Regions from separate parts of the Homo sapiens genome. Here all the other regions are linked to region 1. Evidence: promoter capture Hi-C in 16 types of primary human blood cells and fetal thymus (Javierre and others, 2016). All regions are on one chromosome and are shown on one strand. Each heading gives the region's core, a stretch centred on a gene start or on the middle of the fragment in contact. The rest is flanking DNA. Distances are from core to core; before and after follow the strand shown. Region 1 holds the start of ACSBG2 (acyl-CoA synthetase bubblegum family member 2). Region 2 holds the start of CD70 (CD70 molecule). Region 3 overlaps TUBB4A (tubulin beta 4A class IVa). Region 4 holds the start of KHSRP (KH-type splicing regulatory protein).

The links. Contacts are between HindIII fragments. The CHiCAGO score rates a contact against its expected background, and 5 or more counts as called.
Region 2: the fragment with the promoter of CD70 here is called in contact with the fragment with the promoter of ACSBG2 in region 1 in 5 of 17 cell types (M0 macrophages, M2 macrophages, erythroblasts and 2 more); the score reaches 8.9 in M0 macrophages.
Region 3: a fragment that was not itself captured here is called in contact with the fragment with the promoter of ACSBG2 in region 1 in 1 of 17 cell types (M0 macrophages); the score reaches 5.7 in M0 macrophages.
Region 4: the fragment with the promoter of KHSRP here is called in contact with the fragment with the promoter of ACSBG2 in region 1 in 1 of 17 cell types (erythroblasts); the score reaches 5.3 in erythroblasts.

The regions. Positions count from the first base shown.
Region 1 is chr19:6,134,076-6,137,302 of GRCh38, reverse strand. ACSBG2 (acyl-CoA synthetase bubblegum family member 2) reads right to left here and starts at 1,636. Exons shown (of 15, transcript NM_030924.5): 1 at 1,394-1,636. All of the region lies in intron 3 of LOC105372255 (a long non-coding RNA gene), which reads left to right. RefSeq lists enhancers at 866-1,768, 1,769-2,672. The HindIII fragment of the contact is 9,635 bases long and covers 1,132-3,227 here.
Region 2 is chr19:6,589,379-6,592,605 of GRCh38, reverse strand. It overlaps CD70 (CD70 molecule), which reads left to right and starts at 1,456. Exons shown (of 3, transcript NM_001252.5): 1 at 1,456-1,765; 2 at 2,470-2,503. The coding sequence starts at 1,604. RefSeq lists enhancers at 1-216, 1,287-1,686, 2,187-2,556. The HindIII fragment of the contact is 5,862 bases long and covers 1-3,227 here.
Region 3 is chr19:6,497,883-6,501,109 of GRCh38, reverse strand. The region is part of intron 3 of TUBB4A (tubulin beta 4A class IVa); the gene reads left to right. Among named protein-coding and RNA genes, the nearest start is that of TUBB4A, 2.8 kb to the left of the region's middle. The HindIII fragment of the contact is 223 bases long and covers 1,322-1,544 here.
Region 4 is chr19:6,423,224-6,426,450 of GRCh38, reverse strand. It overlaps KHSRP (KH-type splicing regulatory protein), which reads left to right and starts at 1,640. Exons shown (of 19, transcript NM_001366299.1): 1 at 1,640-1,998. The coding sequence starts at 1,750. It overlaps SLC25A41 (solute carrier family 25 member 41), which reads left to right. Exons shown (of 7, transcript NM_173637.4): 7 at 1-414. The coding sequence ends at 62. RefSeq lists an enhancer at 1,213-1,332. The HindIII fragment of the contact is 19,014 bases long and covers 1-3,227 here.

The DNA of each region.
Region 1 (3,227 bases), core at 387-2,886:
TTTTATTTTTATTTTTGTAGAGCTGGGGGCCTCGCTATATTGCCCAGGCCGGTCTTGAACTCCTGGCCTCAAGCAAGCCCCCCCCCCCCCCCCAACCCCGCCACCTCGGCCTCCCAAAGTGCTGGGATTTGCAGGTGTGAGCCACCACACCAGGCCCCTCTTTTCTTTATAAATTGCCCATCTTCAGGTATTACTTTATGGCAATGCAAAATGGGCAAATAAAATTAGTATCCGGAGTATGAAAAGAACTCTGGATTTAAAAGACAAATGTAAACAACCCAGTGTTTTATGATGAAAAATGTAAACAGGCAGTTCACAAAAAAGGAGCCTGGAAAGGGCTACAAATCCTGGACAAGATGCTCAGTAGCTTTGGTCATCAGGGAACTGCACGTTAAAAATCACACGATCGGCCGGGTGCGGAGGCTCACACCTGTGATCCCAGCACTTTGGGAGGCCGTGGCAGGTGGATCACTTGAGCTCAGGAGTTCTCTACAGAGGACTTGTAAGTTACTAGTAATATTCGATTTCACGAAGTGAAAAGGGCACACAGATATTTATCGTTATTCATTAAATCGTACAGATATGCTTTGTGTTATTTTATATGCATTATATGTTTCACAATTTTAAAAGGCCATGTAGGGTTCAGATGTGGTGACTCACACCTGTAATCCCAGCACTTTGGGAGGCTGAGTCGGGTGGATCGCTTGAGGCCAGGAGTTCGAGACCAGCCTGGCTGGCATGGTGAAACCCCATCTCTACTAAAAATACAAAAATTAGCTGGGCATGGTGGCGCGTGCCTATAATCCCAGCACTTTGAGAGGTCGAGGCGGGTGGATCACCTGAGGTCAGAAGTTCAAGACCAGCCTGGCTGGTATGGCGAAACCCCATCTCTACTAAAAATATAAAAATTAGGCCGAGTATGGCGGCTCACGCCTGTAATCCCAGCACTTTGGGAGGCCAAGGCGGGTGGATCACGAGGTCAGGAGATTGAGACTATCCTGGCTAATGTGGTGAAACCCCATCTCTACTAAAAAATACAAAAAATTAGCCGGGCATGGTGGCAGGCACCTGTAGTCCCAGCTACTCAGGAGGCTGAGGCAGGAGAATGGTGTGAACCTGGGAGGCGAAGCTTGCAGTGAGCCGAGATTGCGCCTGGGCAACAGAGCAAGACTCTGTCTCAAAAAAAAAAAAAAAATTAGCTGGACATGGTGGCAGGCGCCTGTAATCTCAGCTACTTGGGAGGTTGAGGTGGGAGTATCACTTGAGCCTGGGAGGCAGAGGTTGCAGTGAGCTGAGATCGTGCCACTGCACTATAGCCTGGGCAAAAGAGTGAGACCCTGTCTCAAAAAAAAAAGAAAAGAAAACGCATGCCCTTCTCCCATACCACTGGCACCTGTCACTCTTCAAGAGGTGTGGTTCTGGCCATCTGGCAAGGCACCTGGAGCTGGGACATCTGGTCACTCAGGTGTTTTCTTCTTCCTGCAAAGACAGTCAACAGGTAGCCCCTCCTGGAAACCTGAACATGAGCTGCCCCTTCCCAGCCCCCGTCACCCTCTCCGTCCAGCCAGGATGATGGTGGTGGTGGGAGGCAGGAGGATGGGTGGTTTCCCTCCACAACAGGCCTTCTACCCCATTCAACCTTCCAGAACGTTCCATCCCAGCCACCTCTTGTGACATCACTGGCTGCCCCTGCCTCCGCACCCCACCCCCACCCCTAGGGGAAGCTGCTTCCAGGACAGGGAGATTGCTCTTTTCATGCATCATTCATTTATTCATGCATGCATGCACTTCTGCGTTGCATTCGTGACGTTTTTATGAAGCCATGACCCTAATGGCAGGGATTGTGCTGGATGCTGGAGACATAAAGATGAACAAAGCCAGATGAGGCCTGTTCAAGAAAATAAGAGGAGGCCTAGAATCACACAAACAAATGCAAACTTACCATTGTGAAGAGAGCCCCAAGGCATGTTGAGGGCTTGATCAAAGGATCCCGCCCAGGCAGGGAGTCTGGGAGTGGTTTCTTTCTTTTCTTTCGTTTTTTGAGACGGGAGTCTTGCTCTGTCACCCAGGCTGGAGTGCAATGGTGCGATCTCAGTTCACTGCAACGTCTGCCTCCCAGGTTCAAGCGATTCTCCTGCCTCAGCCTCCCGAGTAGCTGGGATTACAGGCGCCCGCCACCACGCCCGGCTAATCTTTTGTATTTTTAGTACAGACGGGGTTTCGCCATGTTGGCCAGGCTGGTCTCAAACTCCTGACCTTGTGATCCGCCCGCCTTGGCCTCCCAAAGTGCTGAGATGACAGGCGTGAGCCACCGCGCCTGGCCTGGGAGTGGTTTCTTGAGCTGGGATCTGAAGTATGCCTGGATGTTATTCCTGCCCTCGTGACTTTCTCTTACGCTGCCTGTCTTCATGTGTTTACAGCGGCCTCCCCCTTCTCGTTCTCTGCTTTAGTCACTGCTAACAATGTCCACTACCAGGCACAGTGGCTTGTGCCTGGAATCCCAGCACTTTGGGAGGCCAAGTCCGTAGCATCACTTGAGGCCAGGAGTTCAAAACCAGCCTGGGCAATGTAGTAAGACCCCGTCTCTACAGAAAAATTTAAAAAATTAGCCGGGCGTGGTGGTGCGCAAGTGTAACCACAGCTAGTAGGGAGGCTGAGGTGGGGGGATTGTTTGAGCCCAGGAGTTCCAGGCTGCAGTGAGCTGTGATGGTACCATGGCACTCCAGCCAGGCCTACAGAGCAAGACCTTGTCTCAAAACAAAAAAGACAAAACAGTGCCAGGTGCAGCACATACTAGATGCTCAGTAAATAAAGATGTAGCAACAGAATCTTGTGCTGTGCCAGGAGAAAAGGACAAGGAGTGTTCCTTTGTCTCCAGGGCCTTTTGTGTGTGTGTGTGAGAGAGAGAGAGAGACGGAGTTTGGCTCTTGTTGCCCAGACTGGAGTGCAATAGCGTGATCTTGGCTCACTGCAACCTCTGCCTCCCGGGTTCAAGCGATTCTCCTGCCTCAGCCTCCCAAGTAGCTGAGGTTACAGGCATGCACCACCACTCCCGACTAATTTTCTGTATTTTTAGTAGAGATGGGTTTTCACCATGTTGGCCAGGCTGGTCTCCACCTCGTGGCCTCAGGTGATCCACCCGCCTCAACCTTCCATGGTGCTGGGATTACAGGTGTAGCCACCGCACCTGGCCACCAGGGCCTTCTTAATGTTTCACAAATATCTAC
Region 2 (3,227 bases), core at 207-2,706, 460 kb before region 1:
GTAATTTCAAAATGAGGTCATATTCTGCAGTTCCAGGAGGCCATGAATTCTGGGAGGACACCGTTAACCCACTACAGCCATCGAGAACAGCAGCAGGAGGCTGGATGCGGTGGCTCACACCTGTCATCCCGGCACTTTGGGGGACCTACGCAGCAGGATCGCTTGAGCCCAGATGTTTGAGACCAGCCTGGTAACATAGTAACACCCTATCCTCTACCCCCCCCAAAAAAAAAATTAGCCGGGCATGGTAGCGTGTGCTGGTAGACCCAACTATGCAAAAGGCTGAGATGGGAGGGTCACTGAAGCCCAGGAGTTTGAGGCTGCTGTGAGCTGTGTGGCGCCACTGCATCCAGCCTGGGCAACAGAGCAACACTCTGTCTCTAAAAATATTAATTTAGGCCGGGCGCGGCGGCTCACGCCTGTAATCCCAGCACTTTGGGAGGCCAAGGCGGGCAGATCACGAGGTCAGGAGATGGAGACCATCCTCGCTAACATGGTGAAAACCCATCTCTACTAAAAATACAAAAAGTTAGCCGGGCGTGGTGGCGGGCGCCTGTAGTCCCAGCTACTTGAGAGGCTGAGGCAGGAGAATGGCGTGAACCCGGGAGGCGGAGCTTGCAGTGAGCCGAGATGGCGCCACTGCACTCCAGCCTGGGCGACAGAGCGAGACTCTGTCTCAAAAAAAAAAAAAATAAATAATAAAATAAAATAAAAATAAAAAATAAAAATATTAACTTAATTTAACTTTAAACAAAAAAGCAGGTGGTCTCCAAGAATGCAGGAGATAACTGACCGGGTGCAGTGTCTCATGCCTTTAATCCCAGCACTTTGGAAGGCCAAGGCGGGTGGATCACCCAAGGTCAGGAGTTCAAGTCCAGCCTGGCCAACATGGTGAAACCCCATCTCTACTAAAAATACAAAAAATTAGCCAGGCATGGTGGCGCGCGCATGTTACTCCCAGCTACTCGCGAGGCTCAGACAGGAGAATCGCTTGAACCCAGGAGATCGAGGTTGCGGCGAGCTGAGATGGCGCCACTGCACTCCAGCCTGGGTGACAGAGGGAGACCTCCGTCTCAAAAACAAAACAAATCAAAAAAATGCAGGAGAGGGGTACACGAATATTTGGGGAGCACCCCCAATTCTTGGATGTCTGCTGTATCCCCAGTGCACAGCACAATCTAATCCCTAATAAATGTGCAGTGGAGGTTTGTTGAATAAATGAATGGGCCCCAGAAGAATGAGGTGGAGAGGGGAATAGGAAGATTGAATGTCTCCTGCCTGAAGGTCGGGCGGGGAGGGGTTGGGGGCAGGCAACTCTGAGGCTCACCCGGGGCCACTGCCTGCATCCTGGCAACTGCCTCCACCCACTTTAGGATCTTCAGACTGGCAGCGGTTGGAGGGAATTTCCCCTCGCCAATTGCTCAAGTCCCTCCCCTCGACCGGCCGGACATCCCCAGAGAGGGGCAGGCTGGTCCCCTGACAGGTTGAAGCAAGTAGACGCCCAGGAGCCCCGGGAGGGGGCTGCAGTTTCCTTCCTTCCTTCTCGGCAGCGCTCCGCGCCCCCATCGCCCCTCCTGCGCTAGCGGAGGTGATCGCCGCGGCGATGCCGGAGGAGGGTTCGGGCTGCTCGGTGCGGCGCAGGCCCTATGGGTGCGTCCTGCGGGCTGCTTTGGTCCCATTGGTCGCGGGCTTGGTGATCTGCCTCGTGGTGTGCATCCAGCGCTTCGCACAGGCTCAGCAGCAGCTGCCGCTCGAGTCACTTGGGGTGAGTTGAGATGGAAAAGTTGGGAAGAAAACATAGAGAGGCGCGTGACCGAAAAGACAGAATGAGATGGGTACAAAGAGGCCAGAGAGGAAGATCTGGTAGGGCAGAGACAGAGACCAGAACAGGGAGGCGAGGCGGGGACCAGGCTGCCCGGTGTAGGGGCTACGAGACAGGCAGCCCTGCCAGGAGGTACAGGGAGATCCCGGGATGGGAAAGGTAGGCACACATGGAAATGGAAGATGACTCGGCTCTGGTGTTCCCCCGGCAGGCTGACTCAGAGGCTGCTGGGGGCTTCACAAGGCTGGGCGTGGGGGCTTCCTGGGGCCTCCTAGGACGGGATGGCCCCAGCCACTCGCTCCGGGTGGGGGAGGGGTCCCTTTGGGGACCGCGCCGGGCGCCTTTGCAGCGTAGAGAGTCCGCTGCGCGCGGTGCTCTCGCGCCCAGTGACATCCAGGAAAACGATTCGGGAAACGAAGAAGTTCTTTTGAAGGTCTCGACTTCACGTTCCCCGCTGGTTCAGACCTGCTTCCTCTTTAAGAAGTCTTAAGAGTAAAAAAAAATAAAATGAAATAAAATCACCAGTGCGCGCCGTGGGATGAGAGGTGGAAAGGAGGATGGACAGAGAAAAGAGAGCTCCTGGCACAGGGGACACATAGAACCTCTCTGCTTACGTCCGTGCCCTGTTTTCTGGTCTTTTCTTCCAGTGGGACGTAGCTGAGCTGCAGCTGAATCACACAGGTAACACGGGGGACGTGGAGGGACGGGGAGAAGAAGAGGCACAGAGAGAGAAGGAAGGAGAGGTAGAAAGACAAGTGGGGAGAGACAGAGAGAAAGAGACACAGACAGAGACGGAGGGAGAGAGGGAGGGAGAGATAGGGAGGGAAACGGAGAGGGGGAGACAGAGAGAAGACAGAGAGGGAGGGAGAGGCCCAGAGAAAGGGAGGGAGAGACAGAAAAAAGAACAGAGAGAGGGACAGAGGGGACAGACGGGACAGGAGAAGAAGGGGAAAGAAAGAAACAGGGAGAGACGCAGGGAGAGTGGAAGAGGGAGGGAGGGAGACAGGCGGGGGAGACAGAACGAGAGAGAGGGAGAGAGACGGAGAAAGAGAAAAAAGACAGATAGAGGAAGAGAGAATAAAAACGAGAGAGGCGACCTGGCGTGGTTGCTGGAGCCTGTAATCCCAGCGCTTTCGGAGGGCGCGGCGGGTGGATCACTTGAGCCCAGGAGTTTGAGACCAGCCTGGCCAACATGGTGAAACCCCGTCTCTACTAAAATTACAAAAATTAGCCGGGTGTGGTGGCAGGCACCTGTAATCCCAGCTACTCAGGAGGCCGAGGCAGGAGAATCGCCTGAACCTGGGAGGCAGAAGTTGCAGTGAGCCAAGATAATGGCACTGCTCTCCAGCCTGGGTGACAGAGGGAGATTCTGTCAAATAAATAAATAAAAAGAAGAAAGGAAAAG
Region 3 (3,227 bases), core at 184-2,683, 360 kb before region 1:
AGGAGGGCGGATACAGAGAAGGATTCAGGGAAGTCTTCCTGGAGGAGGTGGCATTTTAATTCAACGGTCTGAACCGGAACCAGACTGCCTGGGTGCACATCCCAATTCTGCCACTTCATGCATTCAACAAACAGTGAGCACTCACTGCATACCAGGCCCTGTTCTAGAAGCTGGAGATCCAGGTAAGAATCAAACAGCCGGAGCTCCCTCTCTGCCCCAGTGCAGCTCCCATTCTGGTAGAAGGTGATAGGCCACAAAGGAGATAAATAAGTAAAGCTCTGCCAGGGGTTGATTCAGATGGATAACTTAGGATGGGCTCCTCAGCCTTTCTGGGCCTCAAAAATCCTCTTTTTTTTTTTTTTTTCAGACAGGGTCTGTCTGTCCTGCTGTCACCCAGGCTAGAGTGCAGTGGCATGATCACGGCTCACTGTCACCTCCACCTCTGGGCACACGTGATCCTCTTGCCTCAGTCTCCCAAGTAGCTGGACCTACAGGCATGCACCACCACACCCAGCTAATTTTTTAGTTTTCTTTGTAGAGAGGTGGGTCTCTCTATGTTGCCCATGCTGGTCTCAAACTCCGGGACTCAAACGATCCACCCAACTCAGCTCCCAAAGTGCTGGATTACAAGCATGAGCCACCTTGCCCGGCCTCCTCGTCTTTAAAACAGGGATTTCACTGGGCATGGTGGTTCATGCCTATAAACCCAGGACTTTGGGAGGCTGAGTCAGGAAGAGAGCTTGAGGTCAGGAGTTCGAGACCAGCCTGGGCACCATGGTGAGACCCTGTCTCTACAAAAAGAAAAAAATTTTAATTAGCTGAGTGAGGTGGTGTGCACCTGTAGTCACAGCTACTCGTGAGGCTAAGGTAGGAGAATCACTTGAGCCTGGGAGGTTGAGGCTGCCATGAGCTATGATGGTGCCACTGCACTCCAGCCTGAGCGATGGTGTGAGACCCCATCTCTAAAAAAGATCAAATAAAACAGGGATTCTAAAATGCTATTAGAATTGTGAGGCTCAGGGTGGGCACGGTGGCTCACACCTGTAATCCCAGCACTTTGGGAGGCCGAGGCGGGTGGATCACCTGAGGTCGGGAGTTTGAGACCAGCCTGACTAACATGGAGAAACCCCATCTCTACTAAAAATAAAAAATTAGCCAGGCATGGTGGCACATGCCTGTAATCCCAGCTACTCGGGAGGCTGAGGCAAGAGAATTGCTTGAACGGCAGAGGTTGTGGTGAGCCAAGATCATGACACTGCACCCCAGCGTGGGCAACAAGAGTGAAACTTCGTCTCCAAAAAAAAAAAAAAATTGTGAAGCTTAAAGTCATGAATATGTGTAGAGTTTAGAACAATGCCTGACACAGAGAAAGAGGTAAATAAGCATTTGTCGTTGTTTTCATTACTATCTGCAGTCTAGAATGTGAGTAGGATTTGGACTGGCCAAAGGGCATGGAAGGGAGGAAAGATGTTTAAGACGGAGGCAACAGCATATGTGAAGATAGTGGGGTGTCCACACCCTGGGACAATCCTTCCGGGAAAGCTTTCCTGGCTCCAGCTGGCTGCATGTCCCCACCCTGGCTCCACCCGCCTCCAATACTCCCAGCATGTAAGACGTGCTAAATGCAGGACCTGTCCTGCCTCTCTGAATCTTTTCCGCAACTCGCCTCTTACTTCCATTTTACAGGTGAGAAAACAGAGGCACAGAGACGTTAGGTCACTTGCAGAAAGTCACACTGCAAGCCACTGGGGCTGTCAGGAGCCAGAGGAGAGGGTCTGACTACTAGGTCCACGCTTTTTTTTTTTTTTGAGACGGAGTCTCCGTTGCCCAGGCTGGAGTGCAGTGACGCAACCTCCACCTCCCAGATTCAAGCGATTCTCCTGCCTCACGAGTAGCTGGGACTACAGGCATGCATCACCACACCTAGCTAATTTTTTGTATTTTTAATAGTGACGGGGTTTCGCCATGTTGGCCAGGCTGGTCTCCTATTCCTGACCTCTCAGGTGATCTGCCTGCCTCTGCTTCCCAAAGTGCTGGGATTACAGGCATGAGCAACCGCGCCTGGTCTGAGCCCACACTTTTAATGCTCCTCCCACCCCCTGGCCACCCAGAGGCCATAGAATCTCTTGGCCCAACTGTAAGCCCTCTGGTCCTCCTGAAATCACTCACACCATTTGGCCAATCTCATTTCATCTTGATTTCACCCAGCCATTTCCCAAGGACCTATGATGGGCCACGGCCACAAAACTGCATCATTATGTTTTGAAATCTTCCAACAGATCAGAAAGGGGAAGTCACTTGTCCAAGGTCACACAGTTTGTCTTGTCAGTCCCGAGAATCTGCAGTCTAAACCACCAGGCTCGGGAGGAGGAGGGAGGGGGTGACCAGAGGTGGCTTCTCTGAGGATGTGGCATTGAGCTGAGACCTGAAGGAAGTGAGGAAAAAGTCAGGTGAATACCTGGGGGGAAAGCATTCTAAGCAGCCAAGCCACTAGTGCAAAGGCCCCAGGGCAGGACCACACCTGGAAAGCTGGAGTAACAGCTGCGGCTGAAGCAGAGTGAGGGAGGGGATGGGGCAGGTCCGGCAGGGCCTTGTGGCCTGCAGGGAGGATTTGGGCTTTGACCCCAAGGTAGGTGGGAGCCATGGAGGGCTGTAGGCAGAGGAGGGACGGGACCTGACTTACTTGCTCTCAGGTGTCCTCTCGTGGGTACTGTGGAGAGGACAGACTGGGTGATAAGGGTAGGAGCCAGGGGACCAGGACAGAGGGAATTGAACTTATCCAGGAGGGTGATGCTGGAGCTGAACTAAGGTGGAGACAGATGAGGGGTGAAAGAAAACGTTAGCTGTTCACAGTAATACCGGCCAATATTCTTTTTTTTATTCCATTTTTTTTTTTTTTGAGACAAAGTCTCACTCTGTCGCCCAGGCTGGAGTGCAGTGGCGCGATCTCGGCTCACTGCAAGCTCCACCTCCTGGGTTCACGCCATTCTCCTGCCTCAGCCTCCCGAGTAGCTGAGACTACAGGCACCCACCACCACATCCAGCTAATTTTTTCTATTTTTAGTAGAGACGGGGTTTCACCGTGTTAGCCGGGATAGTCTTGATCTCCTGACCTCGCTATCCGCCCGCCTCGGCCTCCCAAAGTGCTGGGTTTACAAGCGTGAGCCACCACGCCTGGCCAATATTCTTCTTTTTTTTTTTTTTTTTTTTTGAGACGGAGTCTTGCT
Region 4 (3,227 bases), core at 391-2,890, 290 kb before region 1:
TACCAGCAGGTGGCATCAGCTATGTGGTGTACGAAGCCATGAAGAAAACCCTGGGCATATAGGCTGTGAGCTGGACGACACAGCCTAGGCAGAAATGGGACAGGAGGACCTGATGACCCCTGGCCCCAAAGAGCCCTCGAGGCCTCAAGGTTCAGGCCCTGGGGCAGTTTTTGGTGGCAAAAGCAGGCTGGGGGTGGGGGTGGGGCTCTGGGTCAGAAGATTCCTGAAGCTGGGGTTGGTGGTGGGTGGAGGGGGGCAGTGCTGGGTCAGAAAACTCCTGGGACTCCCTCCCCAGGGTGCAGCCTGAGACAAGAAACGTGGACTCCAGTCTGGCCCCTTGTGGGTCGTCCTGGCTCCAGGGCGAAATGGTGAACATGTCACACAACAAGGAATAAAGAGATGGTTTTTGCTGAACGTGTCTGGATACTTGGGCCTAGGAGTGGAACTGGGTGCATGAGATCCCTGGACCCAGTAGGGGAGCTGGGGACCTTGGGCCTCTGGGTCCTGAATGGGAATTTGTGTCCAGGAGAGGAAGTGAGGACCTAGGATAGGAGCTTGAGGCTTGGATCCCAGGGCCTTAGGCGAAGGGAGTGAGGGGTGTGAAGTGAGGGGTGTGATCGAGGCTGTGATCCCTCGATCCCGGTTGTTGGAACGGTTCTGGACTCGTGAGTGGGGCTGGTTCCTTGAGTCCTGCAAGAGAACTGGACGCTCTAGATGGGGGGTCGAGAGAGAAGAAGGCCCGGGGGATCCCGAGTTTCCTGCTTTCCGGCCTCCCCACCTCCGGAAGCGCTCGATCTCTAAGGCTTCAAGCGGGCCACGTGCCGGGCCTACCCAACCAGGCTGCCGGTGAGCTAACCCAGACATCAGGCCTGAGTTCGGGCAGCCGATTGCCACCGCCCACGTCGGCTGCCATTCACTACAGTTCCCGCTAATCCCCTCGCTGTCTGGTGGCCGACTCCGCCCCAATGCAGCGGCGCTTCCACTGGCTCCCACCAAAAGTGGGCGCTTTGATTTCCTTCATTCCCATTTGTCCAGACCAGTGTCAGTCACCGAACACCCACCCATGTCGCTCAGCCATTGGCTTAGAAGTCAGGGATAGAAAAGGATTCTGGTTAACAAGGGAAGCAATTAAAGTCCAAAGCCAACCTCATCACCCAGAACTCGTCAGGAATTGGATTAATTGGCTGCCCATCTTTACAAGCACCACCTCTCACGTGCATTCATTGGCTTGTGTCCACGACTATCAAACCTAACGCCCACCCAGCCGGTCCATAGGAGTCTTCCACTAGGCCCGGCCTTACAGTCCACGTGACTCTTCAGAACCGTCAATCTAATTCTGAAGCCGCCCCGCGAATCTGGCACTCGCGTTTCATTGGGCCTCCTGCCTTCTCAGATCTCCTTCATTTGCCCGCCCAGCACGGGCAGCTCGCAGCTATTGCCTCTGAGAGCTGTCAGTCACTCTGAGCCTCCCGCCCACTGCCCCTCATTGCACTCCGATTGGCCACCTCCTACAGAGCTCGCGATTGGTGTCCGGGGTGCGGCGGCTGCCTCCCATTGGCCCGCCGGAGTCGTCCGTCACGTCGGCGGCGGGAGGGGCGACTCTCTCCCCCCTCGTCGTCCTCCCAGCGGCTGGGTTCCCAGAGTGCTCCGCGGCCGTGTGGAGCGAGGCCTTGTTCCCGCGTTGAGCCGCCGCCGCCGCCGCCGCCTCCTCAGCTTCAGCCTCCGCGCCAGGCCCGGCCCCGCCGCGCCATGTCGGACTACAGCACGGGAGGACCCCCGCCCGGGCCGCCGCCGCCCGCCGGCGGGGGCGGGGGAGCCGGAGGCGCCGGGGGAGGCCCTCCGCCGGGCCCGCCAGGCGCGGGGGACCGGGGCGGCGGCGGTCCCGGCGGCGGCGGCCCGGGCGGGGGGTCGGCCGGGGGCCCCTCTCAGCCACCCGGCGGAGGCGGCCCGGGAATCCGCAAGGACGCTTTCGCCGACGCCGTGCAGCGGGCCCGCCAGGTGAGGAGGCCGAGGGCCTGAGGGGCGCGCTCGCGCGCGCGCGCAGGCGGGGGAGGGGGCGGGGGTCACGTGCGCGCGCGCGCGCAGGGTCGCGGAGGGGGGCCGGGGCCGTCGCGGGGTCACGTGGGCGGTAGGCGGGGGCCTGGCCCTCCCGCTGCGCCTCGAGTGGGATCCCAACGGGTGACCCCCCTGCAGGGAGTAGGGGCGCACTGGGGGTCACCAGGAGCGGCGCCTGGGTGTGCAGGCGCCCCGGAGCTCGGAGACGCACTTTTGGGACCCCCCCCTTAGCCCCCCGGCCTTAGGACATGCCTGGAGGCAGGGGTCCACCTTCCCGGGCGGAGGGCCTTTACTCTCCCCTCCATATCAGGGCAAAGGGCAGTGTTTGCCCCCAACCCAGTCCCATTTCTGTCCCCTCTCTAGGAGAAAGGGACATTGTGGGGGTGGGAGGGACAGTCCTTCCTCTTCAGTCGGGAAAGTGGATGGGGACCTGTCTAGGGCTGAGCACTTGGGCGAAATGGGGAAGACGAGCATGGGGACTGGCTCTTGGATGCTTTGGTGGCTTGAAAGCGTGGTCTGTCTCTTTGGGGGAAAGAAGGGAGGGTCTCCCACCCCCGTGTATTGAGGCGTAATGACAAGGAAGTGTCACATGCTGCTAGGACTGACCTCTCCAGCTCCATTTGCAGCCTCCCCATGGCCTGGAGGGGTGGGGGTCGGTAGAATGGGAGGACTTTGCCGCCGACCGGCTCCTGGGCTGTCCCAATGCCTCCGGGGCTAGAGACTGGCTCCTCCCAAGGTGGGAGGTCCCGTTAAGTGAACGCCTGTGTTCTGGCCCTCTGTCGTCTCTCTCACCCTTGGAGTTGGGTGGGTTCTAGCGTGCATTTGGTCTTATTGCCCATGGAACCGTCTGATTCTGGGACAGCTTGAAGGGAGGAAGCTGGTGCTGTCAGTTGGTGGGGACAGGCCCCCTGTGGGCATCCCATGAGTTTTGGCTCTAGGGCAGCGTAGAAAAATGGAGACTGGTGGAAAGGGAGATTCTTAACATGGTTTGGGTTTCTAAACCCCAGACTCTGATCCTAAGTTTGCTGGGTTGAGGTTTCTTTAAAGTTGCTCTTCACGTGTCTGAGATGTAACTTGTGTCCCATAGAGTCTTGGTTTTTTGTTTGTTTGTTTGTTTTTTGGAAACAGTCTCAATATCACCCAGGCAGGGGTGCAGTGGCACGATCTCAGCA